Regions from separate parts of the Homo sapiens genome. Here regions 2, 3, 4, 5, 6 and 7 are each linked to region 1. Evidence: promoter capture Hi-C in 16 types of primary human blood cells and fetal thymus (Javierre and others, 2016). All regions are on one chromosome and are shown on one strand. The core of a region is centred on a gene start or on the middle of the fragment in contact, and the rest is flanking DNA. Distances in the headings are between cores, read along the strand shown. Region 1 holds the start of HOOK1 (hook microtubule tethering protein 1). Region 2 holds the start of PATJ (PATJ crumbs cell polarity complex component). Region 3 overlaps OMA1 (OMA1 zinc metallopeptidase). Region 4 overlaps OMA1 (OMA1 zinc metallopeptidase). Region 5 overlaps OMA1 (OMA1 zinc metallopeptidase). Region 6 overlaps OMA1 (OMA1 zinc metallopeptidase). Region 7 has its middle 12 kb from the start of OMA1.

Region 1 (3,034 bases), core at 399-2,898:
ATTACAACACAAAAGAAAATCCTGTGCTTCTCCACCACCTCACATGTAAATCAATGACATCATAAAGACTAAGCTTAACACTTCAGTCAATTGAGGTTTACAATAATGTAGCAGATTCGGATACACCCTTTAATTAGTCTGTTTTAACAAAACAAATCATTAAAAGTAATGTTGCCTTGTTTCTACGACAGTCTTAAATACAGCACTTCCACCCCAATACCTATTTCAAATGAAAATTCAGCTGAACAGTTAGCTAATTGCTTTTAACTCACAAACCCTAAATATTTGCATTCCACTAAAAGCAAAAGTTATTTACTTACAAAGTGTAAATGCTTTAAATTATGGCTATTTCCAATAGGCTTCACACATTTCCATAAACCTAGATTTCTCATTCTTTGGAATTAGATGCATTAGATCACTAGGGAATCTCAACCGATTACAGCCTCCTGATCCCGTCTGTTTACATTCCATCTGCACACACTCCCCTAGACGCAACTAAACAACTGGTTTGGGATGAGCATCATCAACAGCACCTTGTGGCTCATCAAACACCATCTTTACTCAATATGGGTTAAGAACCACACCTGAATGCCAGCACTGATATCTAAGTAACTCTAAGAGGTGGGATGTCATTTTGCTGACTGGAATATTGAACAATCTGGGGACAGATATGCCTGTCCAGACCCAACACAAATTAACAAAAATCCTAAACACAGATAAATCCTAAAGAAAAATGTCAACTCATTTTCTTTAAAGAAAATGCTGTCCATTTAGAGGAGGAGAGGGCCAGCGAGAAAAAGGGAAAACGACCCCCGACTCCCAACACATCTTTTTCTCCATACGGGAAATACAAACATCTCTTTGAAGCGGCTTCTACAAAATCGGATGTTCTAGAGTCCTGAAGGAGCATTGGTCCGGGAACTAAAACAGCCAGCCACCTCCTGGCCACCTGTGTCCAGGTAGAGCAAGGTAGTTTGAGGATGCAGGGTTAGGTTTCGGAAAGGGTCTTCACGCCCAAGCGGACCAAGGCAAGAGAGTCGGCGATCCAGAAAGTGGAGGGCTCGGGCGCTGTTCAGGGGGAGAAAATGGGGCAGCGGGGAGAAAAGAGGATGGGTGCTTGGTTCATATCCCAGCTGTTAGGGCACCAGGCAGGTCGAATCCTCTGGTTGAGACCAGAGCCTCCACTGTTACGCTCCCAGAGCTTCCTTTACCCCCACCCCCGGACACCAACCCGCGCCCACACACCTGCCCGTCGACCCGCAGGTGGCATTCTCTCGGTCAAGGGCACGAGGTGAGAAGGGCAGGGTGCGCCGGGACCCTGTGCAGGTAGCCCCAGCTCACCTGGGAGAACCGGGCGCCCCAGGCTCCTCGCCTCGGCCCCCTGGCCCCCTCGCCCTCTCGCCTCCTCGCACTCACCCAGATCATGAGGCTGTCGCACAGGGGCAGCTTAGGCTGCGGCGGCGGCTGCGTCTCCTCCATGGCCGGCGCCGCCGTCGACGACGCCGCGGACACCTTCACACTCCCTCCTACCGGCTCTCCTCCAGGAGCCGGCGTCCACGACCTGCTAGCCCCCAGGAAAGCTCGGTACCAGGCCCGACCCGCGCAGCTCACGCGCGAACCCTCGCGCTGTCGACGCGTCCGGCGTCACCCCCTCCTCACCCGCCCCCGCCTCGCTCCAGCGTTCGCCCCCTCCCCTTCCTGGGCCCCGGCCGCGCTGCCAGGCACCTGAGCCCCGCCTTCTCCCACCCCTCCCCTCCTCCCACCCGTCCTGCCCACTCCCGCACACCTCGCCCCGCCGCCCTGAGTGACCTGGCCGCGCACCAGTCACAGAGACGGTAGGTACCCGGGGGGGCGGGCGGGGCGGGGCGGGGGCGGGAAGAACCGGGATAGGTTGCGCAGGGGGGATTGCTGATTGGACGTGCCCTCGTGGGCTCTGGCCAATCAACGTGAGACAAGCCTGAGCCTTGGGTAGAGAGTGAGAGTGGGTGGGAAGAGGTTTATGACCTGGCAGGTGCAGTGAGGGCGGGGGTGGGAGGTTGCGCGCGGGAAGCGAGCGCGCGTGCGCGGCGGGGATTGGTAAGGCTGAAGCTCAGCCCCAGTGGCCGAAGAGGCAGAGGGGCAGCAGGGCACCGGCTGGGCTCAGGCGTCTTCCCTCCTTCTTCGCGGTAGCACGCCGCCTCGCTACACCTGTGGAGGGCCCACACTCTGCTTCCACATTGTCTTCAGAAATAGATCCTACCGGCTGGGCGAGGTGGCTCACGCCTGTAATCCTAGCACTTTGGGAGGCTGAGGCGGGTGGATCACCTGAGGTCAGGAGTTCGAGACCCGCCAGGCCAAGATGGCGAAACCCATTCTCTACTAAAAATACAAAGATTAGCCGGGGGTGGTGGCACATGACTGTAATCCCAGCTACTCAGGAGGCTGAGGCAGAAGAATCGCTTGAACCCGGGAGGCACAGGTTGCAGTGAGCCGAGATCATGCCACTGCACCCCAGCCTGGACAAAAAACCGAGACTCTGTCTCTAAAAAATATATAAAACAAAATAAAGAAAGAAAGAAATAGATCATACCCATGAATTAAAACTCTTCGAGGAAGGAAGAGCTGATTTCCTCCTAGGCACTCATTGGAAAGGGATGTTTTCATTTGCACACGTGGCAAATATGCCACATTAATAAGGAAAATAGAATCCGTCAGTGCTCCTTAAATAAGCTCTCACGGGACCATAGATCATGAGCAATTTTATTTTACATGGGGCAAAAGGGAAGACCGTTTTCAAGTAGCAAAATAAACGAAATGTTTTGAAAAACATGGAAGATATTAATGTATCCATTTTCCTTTGTCAGTTGAAAATTTGCTTTTTCCGAGAATGTTGTGGGGTGGAGGGGGGTCGGGGGAGGTGACCTGAAATTGGAAGCTCTCCAAGGTATTGATAGATGGCTTAGGTGATTGAAAAGGGCTAGACTATTCTTAGTCTTGCTGTCACTTCACTCATTCATAAACTCATCAATTCATGCTCTGAGTAAGAAAACAGCTG
Region 2 (3,034 bases), core at 535-3,034, 1.9 Mb before region 1:
CACCCAGGCTGGAGTGTAGTGGTGCAAACACCACTCACCACAGCCTCCATCTCCTGGGCTCAAGCAATTCCCCTGCCTCAACCTCCCGACACACCTGACTATTTAAAAAGCTTTTTCTGTAAAGACAGCCATGTTGCTCAGGCTGGTCTCCAACTCTTGGCCTCAAGCGATCCTCCTGCCTAAGCCTCCTAAGTAGCTGAGATAACAGGCATGAGGCAGGTTGCCAGGCCTGATAAGATGCTCTCCATAACACCTGCCCAGTAATGGCATCTTCAACAATGGCCAACTCTGGCTTTCAGTCTGCAAAACCAATAAACTCTGTTTTCACGCAGCTTATCTGCACTTACTTTGCCAATAAAAGTTTCCTTTTACCCTCCCCTCTTCCATGCATATATGGCTTGCCAGGCCTGTGCACCTCGGGCTATAACGCTCATTTCTCATTCCCAAATAAATTCAACACATTTGGAGTGTTTTGTTGTTGTTGTTATTGTTAACATCTTAAAGGCCATTAGGGGCCCTAAAAACATCAAAGCTCACTTTAGCTAAAAGGCTCAATCTCACCTAACATTTTCTAATGCTGCAAACAGATTTAAGTTTTTAACCGCTGCCCCTGCCTCCACTCCTTTCAAATAGATGTGTGCAAATTAATTTGCAGCCAATAGGAATTTAGCCCAGAATGTGGTAGTATCATCCTCAGTGGAACCGACATTGTCCTTCTGGGTTTCCAAAGGCTTCTGCCTTCCTTTAAGAAACACTTGTCGCGCACCTACCAATAGCCAGACCCTAAATGCAGTCGAAAAATAAGGCCCTGAAAGGGGCACCCTCTAAATGGCAGAGGCAAGCCAGTAAACAACCAACTGGAATTCAAAGTGACAAGAGCCACTTGGAAATATGACAAAGTGCCAAGTGAAGGGGTGTTCACTTAATTCGGCCTGCGTGCGGGACGGCTGGGGCGCTTTGGAGAGTGGGAGTGATCTGAAAATGCTTTCCTGAGCTTGATTTAAAAGCAGGAGTCCAGGAATTTCCCCTAAGGCTGGAAGCACTTTCCGACAGAACCTCCCCATCTACGCAGCAAGGCTGGCAGAGCCCAGGGCCTGACCGCTGGCTTGGGAACCTCCGCTACGGGATGACCAGGCGCCGCGACGCGGCCGGGCCCAAGTCGCCCCCTCAGCCCGGCTCTGAGCACCCCCTCCTCTTTGTCCCCTCACCCCGTTCCCTCCTTCCACGGCCACCGATGGAGGGAAAGACTCCGCCCAGCTCTGGGAGCGAAACAGGGGCACCGATCTGGGCGCAAAATAGGATCCGTGCCACCCCCGAATACCAGTGGGCCGAGATTCGAGGCCCGAAAGGCCTGGGGAGGCGGGGCGGCGCCCCTCCCTGCCCGCGGCCTCGGCGAGCCCTGCGCGGCGGGGCGGGGACCACCGTGGGGTCACCCGGGCCCGACGCAGGAGGACGGCGCCCCCGCCCCGCCTCCCGGGTCAGCGCGGACGCACGCCGCGGGCGCCCCATCCTCGCCGCGGCCCCTCTGAGCGCCCGGCGGCGCCCTCCACCTCCGGCTCCCACCCACTCCAGGCGGGCGGGCGGGGAGAGCGCGGGGGCAGGGCAGGCAGGCCCGGGAAGCCCCGAGGGAGCTGCCCCCGGCCGGCCTCCAGGCGCGGGGACACCCAGGGGCGAGCGCGCACTGCACAGCCGGGACCTCACGCTTTACCTGGTGCGCTGGAGGAGCAGGTGGGAGCCCGGGTCGGGCGGGCTCGGTGTCGGCCCTGCCTCACCTGGGCGGAAGTGAGAGGCCCAGGGTGACCGCGCCTCACCTGGCAGGCCCTCCCCTCGCCCCGACTCTCCCCGCCCGGGGCGGGGCACCGGGGTGGCGCAGGGGGCGGGGGAGGGAGCCCGGGGCCGCGGGAGGCGGGCTCCAAGGAGGGAGGACGGTTGCCCTGGCTGTTTACGTGCAGGTGAATTCCTACCGGGCGCGGGATGGCCAAGGGCCTGGGAAAAGTGGGCTGTGGGGGCGGGGTGGCGGATCAGACCGCGCGTGGTGGGGACAGCCGCCACTGACGGGGAGGGAGATCCGGACAGACCGGTGTGGTTGGAGGCCTGCGTGTAGAGCGAGACCCAAGATCAAGGAAATTGAGGAGGATATCGATGAAAGCGTTGGGTCAATCCGCTTAACACTTTGTCTTTTTGCCCCTTTCCTTTCCTGTTCTCTCATCCCTCCTTTGTTTTCTCTATTCGCTGACGCAAAATAAAATATTCTAAAACGTGTAAATGTGGGAGTCATTATTTTCTTCTCATTTAGTGGAAGAAAGAAATCCAGCAGTATTTGCCTGCTGTATGCTAGGTGCTAGCTTATGCAATGTCTCATTTACTCTCTGAAGAAACTAATGAGGAAACCGTGCACCCTGTAGGTTGACTGGCCCAAAGTTTGGAACACAGGCAAGGCATTTTGACTCTAACTACAGTGATGATTTCACTATACGTTAATTTTCTTTTATTTGTGATGTCACACCTTCGAGAAAAATATGTCCCGATAGCCTTCTTCCACTCCCTTTAATAACTTTAGGCTTTTGATGATAGGGGTTTTACTTTGCCTGATACAGTCCACACATTAACGATAAAGAGAATCAATCTTCAGGTATCTTATTCATAGAGTACATACAGTAATTGTTAAACACTGTGATTGATTGTGGGAAGATGTGTAAAATGGTATCCCTGTCCCCAGGAAGATGAGGAATAGATACAAAACAACTACAACATAAAGACTTTCAGGCGGGGCGCGGTGGCTCACGCTTGTAATCCCAGTACTTTGGAAGGCCGAGGCGGGTGGATCACCCGAGGTCAGGAGTTCGAGACCAGCCTGACCAATATGATGAAACCCCGTCTCTACTACAAATACAAAAATTAGCCGGGTGTGGTGGATGCGTAGTCCCCTCTACGCAGGAGGCTGAGGCAGGAGAATCACTTGAACCCAGGAGGCAGAGGTTGCAGTGAGCCAAGATCCTGCCACTGCACTCCAGCCTGGGTGACAGAGAGAGAC
Region 3 (3,034 bases), core at 353-2,852, 1.3 Mb after region 1:
TGGCCTCACAATCATGGTGGAAGGCGAATGAGGAGAAAAGTCATGTCTTACATGGCGGCAGTCAAGAGAGCATATGCAGGGGGAACTGCCCTTTATAAAACCATCAGATCTCGTGAGACTTAATCACTATCATGAGAACAGCACGGGAAACACCCACCTCCATGATTCAGTTACCTCCCATGACATGTGGGAATTATGGGAACTGCAATTCAAGATGAGATTTGGGTGGAGACATATGCAAACCATATCACTAGGTTATTATCATCAATTTTACCCAAGACTGTATCAGTTATGTATATCTTTTTTCAGTATATTCAGTCATCTATGTTCTGCAGTTTTTCTTGAAAAAAATCTCTCATAGAGCCTTTTTAAATCTGAATGATTCTCCGGTCTGCTAGAGTTTAACTGAAACCATAGATGTATCTCTAAGATTTGTTTACCCTCAAAACAGCATTAGGGCAGTTGTTACAGATTATTAATACTATTGTTGTTGTTTTTAAAATAATACTATTTGACCAAATCATGAAAACAACTGTTCACTGTAGATTTTTCAGTGGTTCTCTTTTATGTGTTATAATCAAGATACCTTTTATTAAAAAAATAACAATACATTCTTTGTTTTACATGGAGCATATTAGGGATTACTGAAACAATCTGAATACATTGATGTATATATATAGTATTTTTTTATTTTATTATTTCTTTATAGGCTCTCAAAATTAGAGAGATGTGTAATTGTCCACCACTGTCTAATCCAGACCCTCGATTACTATTCAAACTCAGCACGAAGCATTTTCTTGAAGAATCAGAGAAAGAAGACCTAAATATCACGAAGAAACAGAAAATGGATACTCTTCCTATTCAAAAACAGGAGCAAATACCATTAACATACATAGTTGAGAAAAGAACGGGCAGTTGAATTAAAATTTATGAGACACAAGATATATGAAGAATGTTGCAGTCCTTATCATTTTATGTTACTTTTTAAAAAATGATGTTTGAAGTGAAAAAAAAAAGGATATTCAGGGTCAAATCATGTACATTACAGATATTATCTAAATTCTTCTAGAATTTATTTTTCATGAAATATTGATGTATTTTAATCTATGTTAAAATATCTTCAATGAGGAAAATGTCACAGAATAAATTTATATTACACATTTTACTCTGTCTTCTACTTGCTTTTGATTTAGAAGGCAGACCCCTAGTGGATGAGAAATGAGCCCATACGGTAGTTTTTATAGTAGAGAATGTTTCAACTGAGCCTAAACTGGATTTCTAAGTCTGGGTCGTTATGATGAAGGGGGAAACAGTCTGAAGGTATCTGTTTGCAGGAAATAGTTTGCATTGGGGTGGGATTATGTGGAAAAGGGGGCCTCAGGATAGAGAATTTCCTTGTCTTCACCTGTGGATGACTGGAGAAAATGCTACTGGCAGAAGCCATTTTCATAGGGAGGCAAAAGAAGTACAGTTTGTGGTTCAGATGACAAAGCAAGAAACAGAATTGGGGGAGAGGGCATTTCCACAGAGATACAGCGTGTTCCTGGTGCACTGAAATCTTAACAGAAGTTTATGTCATTTGGTTGCTCCATGAGATTACCATTTGGGAATCTCGGGTTCCCAGAGAAGAAAAAGAGGCAAAGGCAAGGCACTGTCCCTCAAAAGAGGCTGAGGCAAGGCACTGTCCCCAAGTTGACCTTCCTGAGCAGCAGATATCAACAAGACGACTGGAGGAAAACGACAAGAGAAGCAGCACAAGACATACCCCCAGTGGTGCCCAGAAATTGCTGCATTATATAAATGTGGAAATACGAGTTATTTAATATTTGTATTCCCAAACTAGTGAAGTCTAGTGATGCTTAGGTTATATTTCTAAGAAGGGCATTTTTCTTGAAATACATTATATTAAATAAATATTTTCTTAGAGAATTAAAGAGGAAAGGGACTACTTTGTATTGTGAATCTACTATGAACTGGGCCCTATATTTATCTTTATTCCATAACCCTACTAGGTTTTATTATTCTCACTTTACAATGACAAATAGGCTTCGAGAAGTTACATAATATATCCAATATCTCTCACCTAGATAGAACAAAGCTGAGTCTATCTGACTACAAATCTGTCCATTTTTTTACAACTCTCAGATATCTAAGACTAAGCTATCAAGACAAGGAACAAAGTATTCTCAGTTGTTCATTAGCTTCCCCACATATGGCTTCAATATAAGTAAAAATCTCATCATTATGAAATCAGGGACCACTTGTGTTTTCTGTAGGTTGATTTTATAGGTTCTTCTCTCAGACCCTTCTATCAAAATTGACATGAAAAGCATAGATGAGGCAGTGTAGGAGAGTAGAACCTCTCCCCCTGCCTGTGAAAGCCTGTGAAATCTCATTTGGGATGTGTCCTGACATTATTAAATCTTCTTGGACAAAATATCTAGTTGTTAAGAAGATAAGTTCAGAGGCTGTTTATGTTTCTCAGGGATTATTATACATTACTTGTAAGGAATTTCCTGATCTGCACACGAGACAACATTGGTCATGAAGAGGTTCATATTAACTATTCTCCATATAATCATTTTTTACACTCCTTGTGATTGGAGTATTGTAAAAGGCACTCCATAACATATAAAGACACTTGGAGAATGTCACCTAAAGGTAAACAGTAAAACACAGCATTAGATTTTCCTGCAGATTTCCTAGGAAAATAATGTAGCAACGGCCTACTTTTTCTTCCATTCCCATTGTCACTTCTAATTGTGTTGTTCATACTTGCTAGAAACATATATAAGTTGACACCATGTCAGAAAGAGCAGAGATAATATCTTTATAGTATATGAAAAAGATTTTTTTTAACCAGTGGAATTAAATGTAAAAGAAATGTTACAGTTCAGCTCAATGCTTTAGAAGAAATTAAATAGCAGTTGAAATACAAGATGTATATATATACTTTAAATTTTATATGGAAATAAGCTGTATGTTCTACACTTAGTTGCAGAACTACTTTGTTCCTGTCAATACTTTTCATGTG
Region 4 (3,034 bases), core at 359-2,858, 1.3 Mb after region 1:
AAGGGACTAGTTTCATTTTCCAGGAGAAATATTTAAAATTTAAACCTCTCATGAGCCATTTAGAACTAAAAACAGTTGTAAAATCAAGGGTGAAGTTATAGGAATGCAAAAATGGTAGAGGAGAATGGAAGACAATGGAAAAAGTTGTTTTTTTTTTTTAACTTTTAGTTTTACCATTATTATAAATGTTTAAAATACATGTCAAGATAGAGAATAATTTGAATAGCTTAATGAGCCCCTATTTTTCACCCACTGATATTGAACAGTATAATCCTTTTATACACTTGCTTCATCTGTCCCATCTCTGTTTTTCTCAGAAGTATTTTGATATAAAGCCCAGATATCAGGGCCTTATAGGGGAGGAGAAAATAATTTTCTCTCTATGCTTCATAGTTCTTAGTTGAGATGAACCCCTGTATTAAAAGACAGATTAACAAGAGGGAAATGGAAGCTTTTTAACATGTATACTTCCTGTATACCTGGGAGATACCCATGGAATGAATAATTCTCCAAGAGGTGGCTTTGAGTTCAGGTGTAAATACCATCTTCAACTGAAACTAAGACAGAAAGGTGCAGGGAAAGCCGCCACGTTGTAGAGAGGTGGTCAGGAAAAGCAGTGAGCAAGGGTAAGGTTTGTTATGTAGATTGTACCTTCTTTGTTGATAAGAGTTTCCAGTGATTTAGAGTCATCCTTCTCTTTCTGGTACAGAGAGGGAGACATACTTGCAAATTAGAGATTTCCTTCGTAGATACATATTTCTCTGAGAAAACGGTAACTTCTTCTTCCTGTTTTCAGAACTTCCCCTATGTCTGCTATTGCCCAAAATAATTAGTAGAAAATAACTCTTATGCTAAAGAGGCATATTTGGGGTGGCATAGTCTGGTCTCCTGGAGTCTTATTTTGGAATGATATGTCCTGAACTCCATCAACTTTAGTATGCATTTCAGAAAGTAGTATCATTTTCTTCCATAATCATAACATTATCATGCCTAAGGAAACTCATAGTAATTCCTTAAAATTAAATATTCTGTCTACATCAGATTTCTGTATCTCAGCAGTGTTACAGTTGGCCTGTTTAAATTAGGATACTTCATGATCCACACATTGCATTTGGTCCTTACGTCCCTAAAGTCCTTTTGACTTTAGGACAGTACCCCCCTCCCTTTTGTTTTGTTTGTTTTAAAACTTGTCATTGAATTGGTGAGTACATATAATCCCACATTGTAGATTCTGGATTAACTTGATTGCTTCTTCGTGGTATTTCTAACTTGTTTCTATATATACCTGTAAATAGAGATTAAATTTTGGGAAGGATATTTTATAGGTGATGCAACTAAGCTTCATAGTGCTTTGCATTGGAAGTCTCTTAATACCTGGCTGCCCCACATCTGGTGATGCTGAAGGCCATCAGTGGGTTGGATGGTGATGGCCTGGTTCTTTGTTTGCAAAGGTGGTTTTCTTCCTTGTGGCCAGCAAGTGATTGTGGGGTGATAATTTAGCACCACCCTGCAAATAATCAGTTTTCAAACAACCTGAGAAATGTGTCTTCACGAGAAATCTATGTAGAATCTATTTAGAACTCAGACCAGCCAAATTAACCCTAATGGAATAAAAGATGTTGCAGACACTTTTATCTTATTCAGGAATAGACTTAAGAGGTAGGTAAGAGAGACTTTTAAAAAATCAGAACGGTAAGTGTACAAGAGTTGGAAAAACAGAGTTGAAAGGAAAAATGAGGATAATCTTATTTAAAAGATTATTGAATGTCTAAGTGCCTTTAATAACTCCACAAGGACCCTCATGTAAACAAAATTCAGCAATAGCAACAAAACAAAGCCTCTGAAATGCTCATTGTTCCCCAGTGAGATAAGCTTTAAAGAGCAGAAATACGAAAAACAAAACCAAATCTCAAGTCAAACTTAAAAATGTTACTTTATGGGAGAGGACAGGCAAGGCGGCAAGAACATAGAAGCAGTGCCACCTGAAGCTGGCATGATAAGGTTGATTTAACTGCACTGAAAGTGACAGAATCTGAAAGAACGACTTTACAAATGTAAGATAAATCCATTTCAGAAAATTGTTAAACTTGTGAATTCAACAGAGAAGCTGTAAAACTTTCGGTGGAGGCTGTAAAGAGCAGAATTGATACCTCAGAGCAAAGACTCATTGATGCGGAAGATAGAGGAACATAGCACAACCAAATTAAAATGCCCAAAGCCAAAAAAAAAAAGTCTAAAAAAATGAAAGAATATTGAAAAGGCACCAGGAAATCCAAGCTGCATATAACAATGGGAAAGATACATTTGTACATGTCTTCATTTCTTTGATTGTGGTTTCTATATCATATTTTTTTATTTAGTTAACATTTCTCAAGATGGGTTTTTAGGAGATTCCCAGAGTATCATCCATGGGAAGCCCTGAAATGACAAGCTTAGATATTTAAACTTATGAAGTGTTTAATCTTCATTGCAAAGACAGGCTTTTACAAGCTACCTAGGTAAAAAGGCATACAAGAGTAAGAATGACTCTGGACCTTTCTTTTCATAAGCATAAGGAAGATATTTCTTTCCTCCTAAGTTCTTATACTTCTTGCTGTTGGAGGAAGTGTAAGAGTTTTGGAGGAAAGAAACAAAACAAAAAACAGTGGAACTAATACACTTTGGTATGATATCTACAAAAACTAACTTTTTTTTTTTTTATGGTGGAAGATCCTTAGCAAATGAAACACATAGGACAATATGTCAGTGAAGTTCTTGGTTGCAACAGTGCTCTTTCCAGAATCTACTGACAATCAGGAATTAGATAAAATATACAGTTTTGTTTGTTTAAATATAATTGTAACTAGCTTGCACCCTGCCATTGTTAGAAAACCACAGATCAAGTAAGGAACTACCAAAAAATTCAGCTGAATAATATGAAAAATAAAATTTAAGTGGCATGAGAAACTAAATCCTAAAAAAAGGAATGTATTATTATTATTATTATACTTTAAGTTTTAGGGTACATGTGCACAACATGCAGGTGTGTTACATA
Region 5 (3,034 bases), core at 160-2,659, 1.3 Mb after region 1:
ATTTTCTGCACTTTTTCTTCAACTTTAAAGTTCCAGGGTACATGTGCAGATGTGCAGGTTTGTTACATTAATAAATATGTGTCACAGTGGTTTGCTGCACAGATCAACTCATCACCTAGGTATTAAGCCCAGCATCCATTAGCTATTCTTCCTGATGTTCTCCTTCCCCCTGCATTTTCTGCCTGTATTGAGATGATTATATGATTTTTCTCCTTTAATCTGTTATTGGGCAAATTACATTAATTTTTTTTAAAGTTAAGTTGCATTTTTGGGGAAATATACCTAATTTTGTCAATTATCCCTTAATATATTGCTAGAATTGGTTTAATGCTTAGTTTAGAATGTTTATCCTATGTTCAAAGGAGATAGTCGCCTAGAATTTTCTTTTCTTGTAATGTCCTGTCAGGTTTTGGAATCAAAGTTATGCTGGCCTCATAAAATTGATCAGGGAAGTGTTCTTCATTTTCTCTTCTCCAGAAGAGTTTTTGTAAGATTAGCTATATTTATTTTTTAAACGTTTGGAGAATTCCTGGGTAAAGCCATATGGGCCTGAAGATTTCTTCATGAGTTTGTCTTTAATTATGGATTCAGTCTCTTTAATAGATATAGAACTATTCAGATTTTTCTATTTCTTGTTTCAGTTTTTGTAGTTTTTCTAGGAATTTTTGTTTAATTTTCAAAATCATTGGCATGAAGTTGTTTTAATATACTCTTATTATATTTTAATGTCTGAAGGATACCTGTTATTTTACATGTATCTTTTAAATGTCCCCTTTGTTAATATTGGTGCTCTTTGTCTTGTCTTTTTTTTGCTAGATTTTATCACTTTCATCAATCTTTTCAAAACCATCTTTTGGGTTTGCTTATTGTCTCTATTATATAATTGTTTTCTGTTATGTCAGTTACCATTTTTTTTCATTATTTTATTCTGCATTCATTTTTTGGGTTTCATATGTGGTTCTTTCCCTAACTTAAGATGAATACTACTATCATTTATTTTAAACTCTTTTTTTTTTCTAGTACATACATTTAAGGCCGTACATTTTCCTCTGAGAGCATCTTTACTTGTCATGTTGCAAGGGTTGATATGTTATTTTTTCTTCAGTTTAAAATGTATTCTTGTTTTCGCTGTGGTTTCTTCTTTGACCCATGGGTTATTTAGAAGTATATTGCTTAGTTTTTGAACATTTGATGATTTTAAAGTTACCTTTTGTTTTCGATTTCTAGCTTAGTTACACTCTGATTGGATAATATACTGAATGACTGGAATCCTTTGAAAAGGGTTGGGTCTTGCTTTGTGGCTCAGGATGTGATCAATTTTGTCAAAATGACGTGCACTTGAAAGTGGATCCTGCCATTGCGGGTGGTGTTCTGTGGATGTCAGTTTTGCCAAGTGTGTCAATTTTGTTGTTTCAGATCTTCTATATTCTTGCTGATTTTTTTTCCTTTTTTTTGTAGTTATCAAGAGAGGTTTGGTAATATTTCATTATGGTTGTAGATTTTTCTTTTTTCCTTTTAGGGCTATTAATTTTTGCCGTGTACATCTTAAAAGTATCTTTAATATACATACTTGTTAGATTGTTAGATTTTCCTAGTGGATTGGTCCTTTTCTTGCAATAAAATCACTGTCTCTAGTAATACTTCTTGCCTAATGTCCACTTTTTCCTTTTAGTATTGTTATTTCAGCTTTCTTTCAGTTAGTGCTTGCATGGTAAATCTTTAATATTCTGATTTTCAAACCTCCTGTGTTCTTGTGTGTGTAGCCCTTGTAAACAGAACATTGCTGTTGTTTTTATCTTTGCCCTTTTTTGGGGAAAAGTTAGTCTATTTGTTTAATTTGCATTTCTTATTTGTAATTATTTATATAATGTGGAACATTTTTATGTGTCTATTGGCACTTCATTTATATTCCTTTGTGAATTATCTTCTCAGATATTTTTCCCATTTTCAAATTGGGCAAGGAAGTTTGTGTTCTTATTCTTGAGTTGTAGGAGTTTTTCACATAAGTGCTAGGTGCAAGTTCTTTGTCAGATATGTGTCTTGCAAGTGTTTTCTTTCATTCTGTGGCTTGCTCTTTTATTTTTTATTTTTTTCAACGTTTAGGTTCCAGGGTACACGTGCAGGTCTGTTACGTGGGTAAATTGCACGTTGCTAAGATTTGGTGTACAAATGATCCTCTCCCCGAGGTAGTGAGCATGGTACCCAAAAGGTGGTTTTTCAACCCTTGCTCCCCTCCTTCCCCCTTCCCTCTGGTAGTTGCCAGTGTCTGTTGTTCCCATCTTTGTGTCCATGTGTAGTCAATGTTTAGCTCCCCCTTATGAGTGAGAACATGCAATAGGCTAATCACTTAACCTCTGACTGTCCATGTATCAGAATGTGTTTTCCACTACCTATCTTGAAGTTCATTAATCTTATTTTTAGCTGTATTTGTTCTACATTAAATTCGTATTTGAGTTTTAAATTTCAGTTACTTTGTCTTTTCATTCCAGAATATCCCTTTGATGCTCTTTTATAAATTTCACTTCTCTGGTGAAATTCTCCATTTTGTCATATGTTTCTTTGTTTATATTTTCTTGAATATGTTAATCATATATTTTTTTAAAAATTCATGTTTCTTAACTCTAATCTCTGTATTATAGCTGGGTCCGTTTCTGTTGTCTGTTTTTGGCTTTGGTCTTGTTTGTTGGCATCGTTGCTTATTTTTGATTGAATGCTGGATGTTTCATATAAACAGTTCTGTTGGCTCTGAATGATATATTTTTTTTTTCCATCAGAGGTATTCTCTGTGCTAAGTGGTCACTTAGAGCATAGCAGATCTCTTCACTCATTCAGAGCCTGAGGTGAGTTTGCATAGGCTGGGATGATGAGCTCTACTGTAAGATTGTAGGACAGCGATCTAGCTCTTTCTTTGGGGAAGCTTCCCATAGAATATATATTGGCCTTTCCTCTGTGGTCATTCACGTGTCTGCAGATGAATCCTGTAAAAACTGGCTGTTGGATGTACCCCATTTACCCTGATGTGATTACTATACAT
Region 6 (3,034 bases), core at 241-2,740, 1.3 Mb after region 1:
TCTGCAGTATCTCTAGCATCCATTATGGTGCCTAGCATTTAGTGGGCACTCATTAAACATTTTCAGAATGAATGAATAATAATACAGTTCAGAGGTCAAAAATACAAAATCTGAATGTTTGGTTAAGGTCGTTAAAATTTTTTAAGTTCATTGCCAACATTTAAAAATTGATAAATTTCACCTAAAATCTGAAATTCTGGCTTTACTTAAAAGTTTTGAATCATTTGGCCACAGCAAGTTCAAATTCCATCATAACTGTTTGCACCTCCTTTAGATGGTCATGAATCTGCATTCACATCAGTATCACTTTGCTGATATTCACTTGCCTGGACCCTACAAACCTGTACTGTGCGATACAGTAGACACTAGCCACATATGGCCATTTAACTGAGTTAAAAATTTCATTCCTCAGATGCACCAGTCACATTTCAAATGCTCAGTAGCCACATGTAGGGGCTACCTTATTGGACAGTGCAGACATGAACATTTTTATCATTGTAGAAAGGTCTGTTGTATGGTGCTTCTTTAGACGTTTGAGTTTGCCACCTCTGTTATACAGAAGTTTTTAGGTAGCATTTATTATTATTTTTAAATTTGTATATCCCTTTGCCAGAGATTGCTATCTTTTAAATCTTTTAAAGATTTACAGATCATCATGTCATTTTTTAAATGATTACCTGGTATTTACCAGGGTAGGACTGTATGTTAATTGTCGGGGTAGGATTCTGTTGCCAGGGTTTGCATTTTAGAAATAATGCTTTAGCTCTAGTTTGGGGTCAAACTGTAGTGGGAGGGGTTAGTGGTGAAATAAGGCAGGGAGATTAGGTGGGTAGTGATCAACACCATAAGACCACAGAGCCCAGGAAAGGCTAGAATGAGATAAGAAGGAGGTAGAATTGACATGACTGATTTAATGTGGGCTGAGATATTTTGGATGCTAAAGTTGCTGTAGAGATAATCCAGTATTTCTGGAACTGATTAAATGTTGAAAATTGGTAAATTTGGCTTTGCAAAGTGTAGGAGGAACCCTCAGCTAGTTCCAGTAAACAACATGTATAATATTAAAATGCTGTCAATTTACAAAAACAAATGTATAACTGTTTTATACCATGTAAACGTCTTAGAGATCATTTATTTGCAGAATACAGAAACTCATTGAAGAAAGCGCATTATTTTGGGGATAAAGTAAAAGCTCATGAAGCTCAATTAAGTGTAGGAAGTACAATGGTTTCATGGGAATCAGGGAGGTCTTATTCTCTCATATTCACTCTGGCTTTGTGGTCTCTCACTTATCTTCTGTCTACACTTAATAGTCCATTGTCTTTTCTGTGGATCCACTTTTTTTTTTTTAAAAAAGCTTTTTGTTTGTAGTTCTTGCTTTCATATTGCTTTGTTTAGCCATAGCACCCGCTGTAGACCCAACTTACACATGCCCTTATATTCCTGTGCGGAATACTGTTTTATGTAAAATCTTTTCAGTATCAAATACCTACTCCTAGCTCTGTAGCTAATGGTAGGGGTTGCTAGGGATGAATGTGGCCGTCTAAGCCTGTCCCCTAAAATGAGGCTGTAAGATGCACATTTGGAAAAGGACTTGTGCTTGGGCAAGTGTCTGAAGCTTATCTACTACAGTAAATCATCAGATTTGAGGTCAAGGAAAGAAAGTGGGCTTGGGTTGTTTTTGCAGTTTGACTTCTAGAAGAAGACTTTACATTTAAACCTTAAAACACTTTCCCATTTAAAACAGTTCTTTCCATTTTTTTTTGTCTTTCTGCATCTGCCTAAATGGCATGAAAAATAATTGCTGCCTTCCTGAACTCTTCAGCTACTCATGGATGTCTTTTTAAGAATGCATACAGTATGTAGTATTTAATAACTGAATTTTATTATCCCCTAATAGTCTTACTTAGGTTCAGTTTTGTCTCCCCAACTAGATTATAACCTCCATGAGAGCAGGACTATATTCTGTGCTGCATAACTCTCATGGCCCCTAGCCAATGAAAACCTTACTAGCTACTCCAGTATGAATTGTGAAATGACTTCTAGGCTTAAATTATTTAACAATTTTTCAGCTTGGTTCAAAAAAGTAAAAACAAAGTATCTTGTTAATAATGTCAAACTATTATATATCAGCCTGGACTTTACTAATTTAAAATTGGTTGTATTTCAAAAAGGGTTAACTCAAAGTTAATGTTTTACTTAGCATGCCCTTTATTAACATTATACATTAACAGTGCAAGGGCAGGATGTATGAATTACATAAAAAATAAATTTGAGTAATTTTCAAATGGTTTGATATATAGATAATACTATTAAAACTGGTAGTCCTGGAGCATCTTTCTAGATAATATCGTATTAGCTTAGGTTGAAGTTTACATATTTTTTTCCCCAACTTTTATATGAAGATTTTGAAACATGCAGAAAAATTTAAGGAACACATATGTAACTATCACTGAGATACAATGATTGCTGATATTTTGTTTATTGACTTTATGTCCTTTGTGTGTGTACCTTTGCTGTACAATTTGAAAGTGAGTTTTATTTATCATGAACAGATCCTTCAGCAAGTATCTCAGGAATAAAATAGTCAGATAACCACAATATTATCACCTAAGAAAATAATAATTACCTAAAACAACTTGAAATTCAATTCATATTTAGATTCCCTCAATCTGGGTTTTTTTGTTTTTTGTTTTTGGTTTTTTTTTTTTTTTTTTTTTTTTTTTGACAGGTTCTCATTCTGTTGCCCACGCCGGAGTGTAGTGGCACAATTTTGGCTCACTGCAGTCTCTTGCCTCCCAGGTTCAAGTGATTCTCCTGCCTCAGCCTCCCAAGTAGCTGGGTTTACAGGCAAGCACCACTCTTTGTAATCCCTTCCCCTGCTGCTTTTTTCCTACAACTCCTCAAGCAGTCACTCATCTCTCTGTCACTATGGATTAGTTTGCATTTTTTGCAGTTTATATTATAGAGATGTAATCAGAGTATGTACTTTCTTGTGTTTTTCCTGTTTTTTTTTTTTTTTTTTTTTTTTTTT
Region 7 (3,034 bases), core at 212-2,711, 1.3 Mb after region 1:
CCCTAACTTGTGGCAACAATTGATCTTTTTATTGTCTCTATAATTTTGCCTTTTCCAGAATGTTATATAGTTGGAATTATACAGTATGTCACCTTTTCAGATTGGCTCCTTGAATTTAGTAATATGCATTTATGTTTCTCCTATGCCTTTTTCTTTTAAAACTTTATTTATTTATTTATTATTTTATTTAGTGATGAGGTCTCATTATATTGCCCAGGCTGGACTTGAACTCATGGGCTCAAGTCATCCTCCCACCTCAGCCTCTCAAGCAGCTGGGACTACAGGCATGTGCCACCACACCCAGCCTTTCATGTCTTTTCATGGCTTAATAGCTTATTTCTTTTTATTGCTGCATAATATTCCATTGTCTTGATGTACTGCCGCTTTTTTTATCCACTCACCTACTGAAGGACATCTTTATTGCTTCCAAGTTTTGGCATTAAGTCTGCTATAAACACCTGTGTGTAGGTTTTTGTGCAGGCATAAGTTTTCAATGTCTTTGGGTAACTATCAGGGAGTGCAAGTGCTGGATCATTGATAAAAAGTAGTATGTTTAGTTTGGTAAGAAGCTGGTCTTTCAAAGTGGCTGTACCATTTTTACATTCTTACCAGCAATGAATGAGAATTCCAGTGGCTTCACAGCCTCACCAGCATTTGATGTTATCAGTGTGCTGCCTTTTGGCCATTCTAATAGGTGTGTAGTGGTATCTCGTTGTTTTAATTTGCATTTTCCTGGTGACATATGATGTAGGGCATCTTTTTATATGCTTATTTATCATCTGTATTTCTTCTTTGATGAGATATTTGTTAAGGTCTTTGACCCATTTTTAATCAGATTTTTTTGTGTGTTTATGTTGTTGAGTTTTAAGAGTTATTCACATATTTTGAATAACATTTTAAAAATAGGTATTTTTTTGCAAATACTTTCCCCAGTCTGTCACTTTTCTTTTAACTCTCCTGACAGTATCTTTTTCAGGGCAGAAAATTTTAATTTTAATAAAGTCCATTTTATTAATTGTTTTTTACATAGATCATGCCTTTGGTGTTGCACTTAAAAAGTCATTGCTGGCTGGGCTCAGTGGCTCATGCCTGTAATCCCAGCACATTGGGAGGCTAAGGAGGGTGGATCACGAGGTCAGGAGATCGAGACCATCCTGGCTAACACGGTGAAACCCCGTCTCTACTAAAAATACAAAAACTTAGCCTGGCGTGGTGGCAGGTGCCTGTAGTCCCAGCTGCTCGGAAGGCTGAGGCAGGAGAATGGCAAGAACCTGGCAGGCGGAGCTTGCAGTGAGCCAAGATGCCACCACTGCACTCCAGGCTGGGTGACAGAGCAAGACTTTGTCTCAAAAAAAAAAAAAAAAAGTCATTGGCAAATGCAAGGTCATCTAGATTTTCTCCCAGGCTGGAGCAACACCGTGAGAAAATCTATTTTTATACTTTTGCATTTTACAATGCAAAATGGAGTCTTTTGGTTTTGCATTTTACATTTACATCCGTAATCCATTTTTAGTTAATTTTTGTGAAGAGTGTAAGGTCTGTGTCTAGATTCGTTTTTTTTTTTTCTGTTTGTTTGTTTTTTGGTATGTGGCTATCTAGTTGTTCCAGCACCATTTTTTGAAAAGATTATCTTTTCTCCATTGTATTACCTTTGCTTCTTTGTCAAAGATGAGTTGACTATATCTATATGGGTCTAATTCTGGACTCGGACTCCCTTTTCTGTTCCTTTGGTCTATTTGTCTCTTCTTTTGCCAGTACAGCACTGTCTTGATTACTGTAGTTTCATAGTAAGTCTAGAAGTCTGGTAGTGTCAGTTCTCTAATTTTGTTCACTTTTAATATTGTCTTGGCTACTCCGGCGTCTTTGCTTTTAGAATTAGTTTGGCAATATCCACAAAATAACTCGATGAGAGTTTCATTGAAATTACATTGACTCTATAGGTCAAGTTGGGAAGAACTGACTGACAATATTATGTCTTCCCATCCATGAATAACAGAATATCTCTTATTTAGTTCTTGATTTCTTTCATTAAAATTGTGCACTTTTTCTCATATAGATCTTATACTTAAAAAGAAAAATTTATACCTAAGTATTTCATTTTGAGTGATGCTAATGTAAATGGTATTGTGTTTTTAATTTCAGACTTCACTTGTTTATTGCTGGCATGTAGGAAAGTAGTTGACTTGCATATTAATCTTGTATCCTGCAACCTTGCTTTAATTGCTTATTAGTTTCAGGAGGGTTTTTTTCTCTTTTTGGTTAATTCTTTTGGATTCTGTCTTTAGATGAACATGTCATCTACAACAAAGACAGTTTTATTTCTTCCTTCCCAATCCATATACCTTACATTTCTTGTTCTCATTGTATTGCATTAGTTTTGACTTCTAGTACAAGGTTGCAAAGCAGTGGTGAGAGGTGACATCCTTGTCTTGTTCCTGATTTTAGTGGGAAAGCATCTAGTTTTTCACCATTAAGTATGACGTTAGCTGTAGGCTTTTTGTAGAGATTCTTTACCAAGTTTAGGAAGTTTCCCTCTGTTCCTAGTTTACTGAGAGGTTTTTGTTTTTATGACTAGACATAGGATTTTGTCAAACGCTTTTTCTGCATGTATTAATACGATCATGTGACTTTCCTTCTTTAGCCTGCTGATGTGATAAATTACATTAATTGATTTTTAAGTGTTGACCTATGAATATCTAGAATAATTCCCATTTGGTCGTGCTATAAGAATCCTTTTATACATTGTTGTATTCAATATGGTGGCATTTTTTTGAGGAATTTTGCATTTATGTTCATGAAAGATATTTGCTGATATATTTTATTTTCTTATATCTTTGTCTGGTTTTGGTATTAAGGTAATGCTGGCCTTATAGAATGAGTTAGGAAGTATTCCTTTGTTTCTATCTTCTGAAACAGATTGTAGAGAATTAGTATAATTTCTTCTTTAAATGTTTGGTAGAATTTACCATTAAATCCACCTGGGTCTGGGGTTTTCTGTTATGGAAGATTATTAATTATTGGATCAGTTTCCTTA

What was found. The method cuts DNA at HindIII sites, captures the fragments that hold promoters and counts their contacts. A CHiCAGO score of 5 or more calls a contact.
Region 2: a contact is called between the fragment with the promoter of PATJ here and the fragment with the promoter of HOOK1 in region 1, in 8 of 17 cell types (non-activated CD4 T cells, activated CD4 T cells, naive CD4 T cells and 5 more). The highest score is 12.1, in non-activated CD4 T cells.
Region 3: a fragment that was not itself captured here is called in contact with the fragment with the promoter of HOOK1 in region 1 in 2 of 17 cell types (M2 macrophages and monocytes); the score reaches 8.2 in M2 macrophages.
Region 4: a fragment that was not itself captured here is called in contact with the fragment with the promoter of HOOK1 in region 1 in 11 of 17 cell types (total B cells, M2 macrophages, naive B cells and 8 more); the score reaches 13.7 in total B cells.
Region 5: a contact is called between a fragment that was not itself captured here and the fragment with the promoter of HOOK1 in region 1, in 7 of 17 cell types (naive CD4 T cells, total CD4 T cells, naive CD8 T cells and 4 more). The highest score is 13.3, in naive CD4 T cells.
Region 6: a contact is called between a fragment that was not itself captured here and the fragment with the promoter of HOOK1 in region 1, in 9 of 17 cell types (non-activated CD4 T cells, total CD8 T cells, total CD4 T cells and 6 more). The highest score is 18.4, in non-activated CD4 T cells.
Region 7: a fragment that was not itself captured here is called in contact with the fragment with the promoter of HOOK1 in region 1 in 6 of 17 cell types (non-activated CD4 T cells, naive CD4 T cells, naive B cells and 3 more); the score reaches 10.4 in non-activated CD4 T cells.

The regions. Positions count from the first base shown.
Region 1 is chr1:59,813,563-59,816,596 of GRCh38, reverse strand. HOOK1 (hook microtubule tethering protein 1) reads right to left here and starts at 1,648. Exons shown (of 22, transcript NM_015888.6): 1 at 1,417-1,648. The coding sequence starts at 1,479. It overlaps LOC105378758 (a long non-coding RNA gene), which reads left to right and starts at 1,731. Exons shown (of 5, transcript XR_947426.3): 1 at 1,731-1,835. RefSeq lists an enhancer at 781-1,344 and a silencer at 1,581-2,180. The HindIII fragment of the contact is 6,303 bases long and covers 76-3,034 here.
Region 2 is chr1:61,741,230-61,744,263 of GRCh38, reverse strand. It overlaps PATJ (PATJ crumbs cell polarity complex component), which reads right to left and starts at 1,784. Exons shown (of 44, transcript NM_001350145.3): 1 at 1,709-1,784. It overlaps PATJ-DT (PATJ divergent transcript), which reads left to right and starts at 1,480. Exons shown (of 1, transcript NR_185910.1): 1 at 1,480-2,266. RefSeq lists a silencer at 1,323-2,032. The HindIII fragment of the contact is 6,850 bases long and covers 113-3,034 here.
Region 3 is chr1:58,478,850-58,481,883 of GRCh38, reverse strand. It overlaps OMA1 (OMA1 zinc metallopeptidase), which reads left to right. Exons shown (of 9, transcript NM_145243.5): 9 at 710-1,165. The coding sequence ends at 919. It also overlaps a transcript of DAB1 not described here. Among named protein-coding and RNA genes, the nearest start is that of OMA1, 66 kb to the left of the region's middle. The HindIII fragment of the contact is 6,288 bases long and covers 1-3,034 here.
Region 4 is chr1:58,495,367-58,498,400 of GRCh38, reverse strand. The region is part of intron 8 of OMA1 (OMA1 zinc metallopeptidase); the gene reads left to right. It also overlaps a transcript of DAB1 not described here. Among named protein-coding and RNA genes, the nearest start is that of OMA1, 50 kb to the left of the region's middle. The HindIII fragment of the contact is 533 bases long and covers 1,342-1,874 here.
Region 5 is chr1:58,519,311-58,522,344 of GRCh38, reverse strand. The region is part of intron 7 of OMA1 (OMA1 zinc metallopeptidase); the gene reads left to right. It also overlaps a transcript of DAB1 not described here. Among named protein-coding and RNA genes, the nearest start is that of OMA1, 26 kb to the left of the region's middle. The HindIII fragment of the contact is 3,020 bases long and covers 1-2,919 here.
Region 6 is chr1:58,541,307-58,544,340 of GRCh38, reverse strand. The region is part of intron 1 of OMA1 (OMA1 zinc metallopeptidase); the gene reads left to right. It also overlaps a transcript of DAB1 not described here. Among named protein-coding and RNA genes, the nearest start is that of OMA1, 3.9 kb to the left of the region's middle. The HindIII fragment of the contact is 261 bases long and covers 1,360-1,620 here.
Region 7 is chr1:58,557,606-58,560,639 of GRCh38, reverse strand. No RefSeq gene overlaps it. Among named protein-coding and RNA genes, the nearest start is that of OMA1, 12 kb to the right of the region's middle. The HindIII fragment of the contact is 3,173 bases long and covers 1-3,034 here.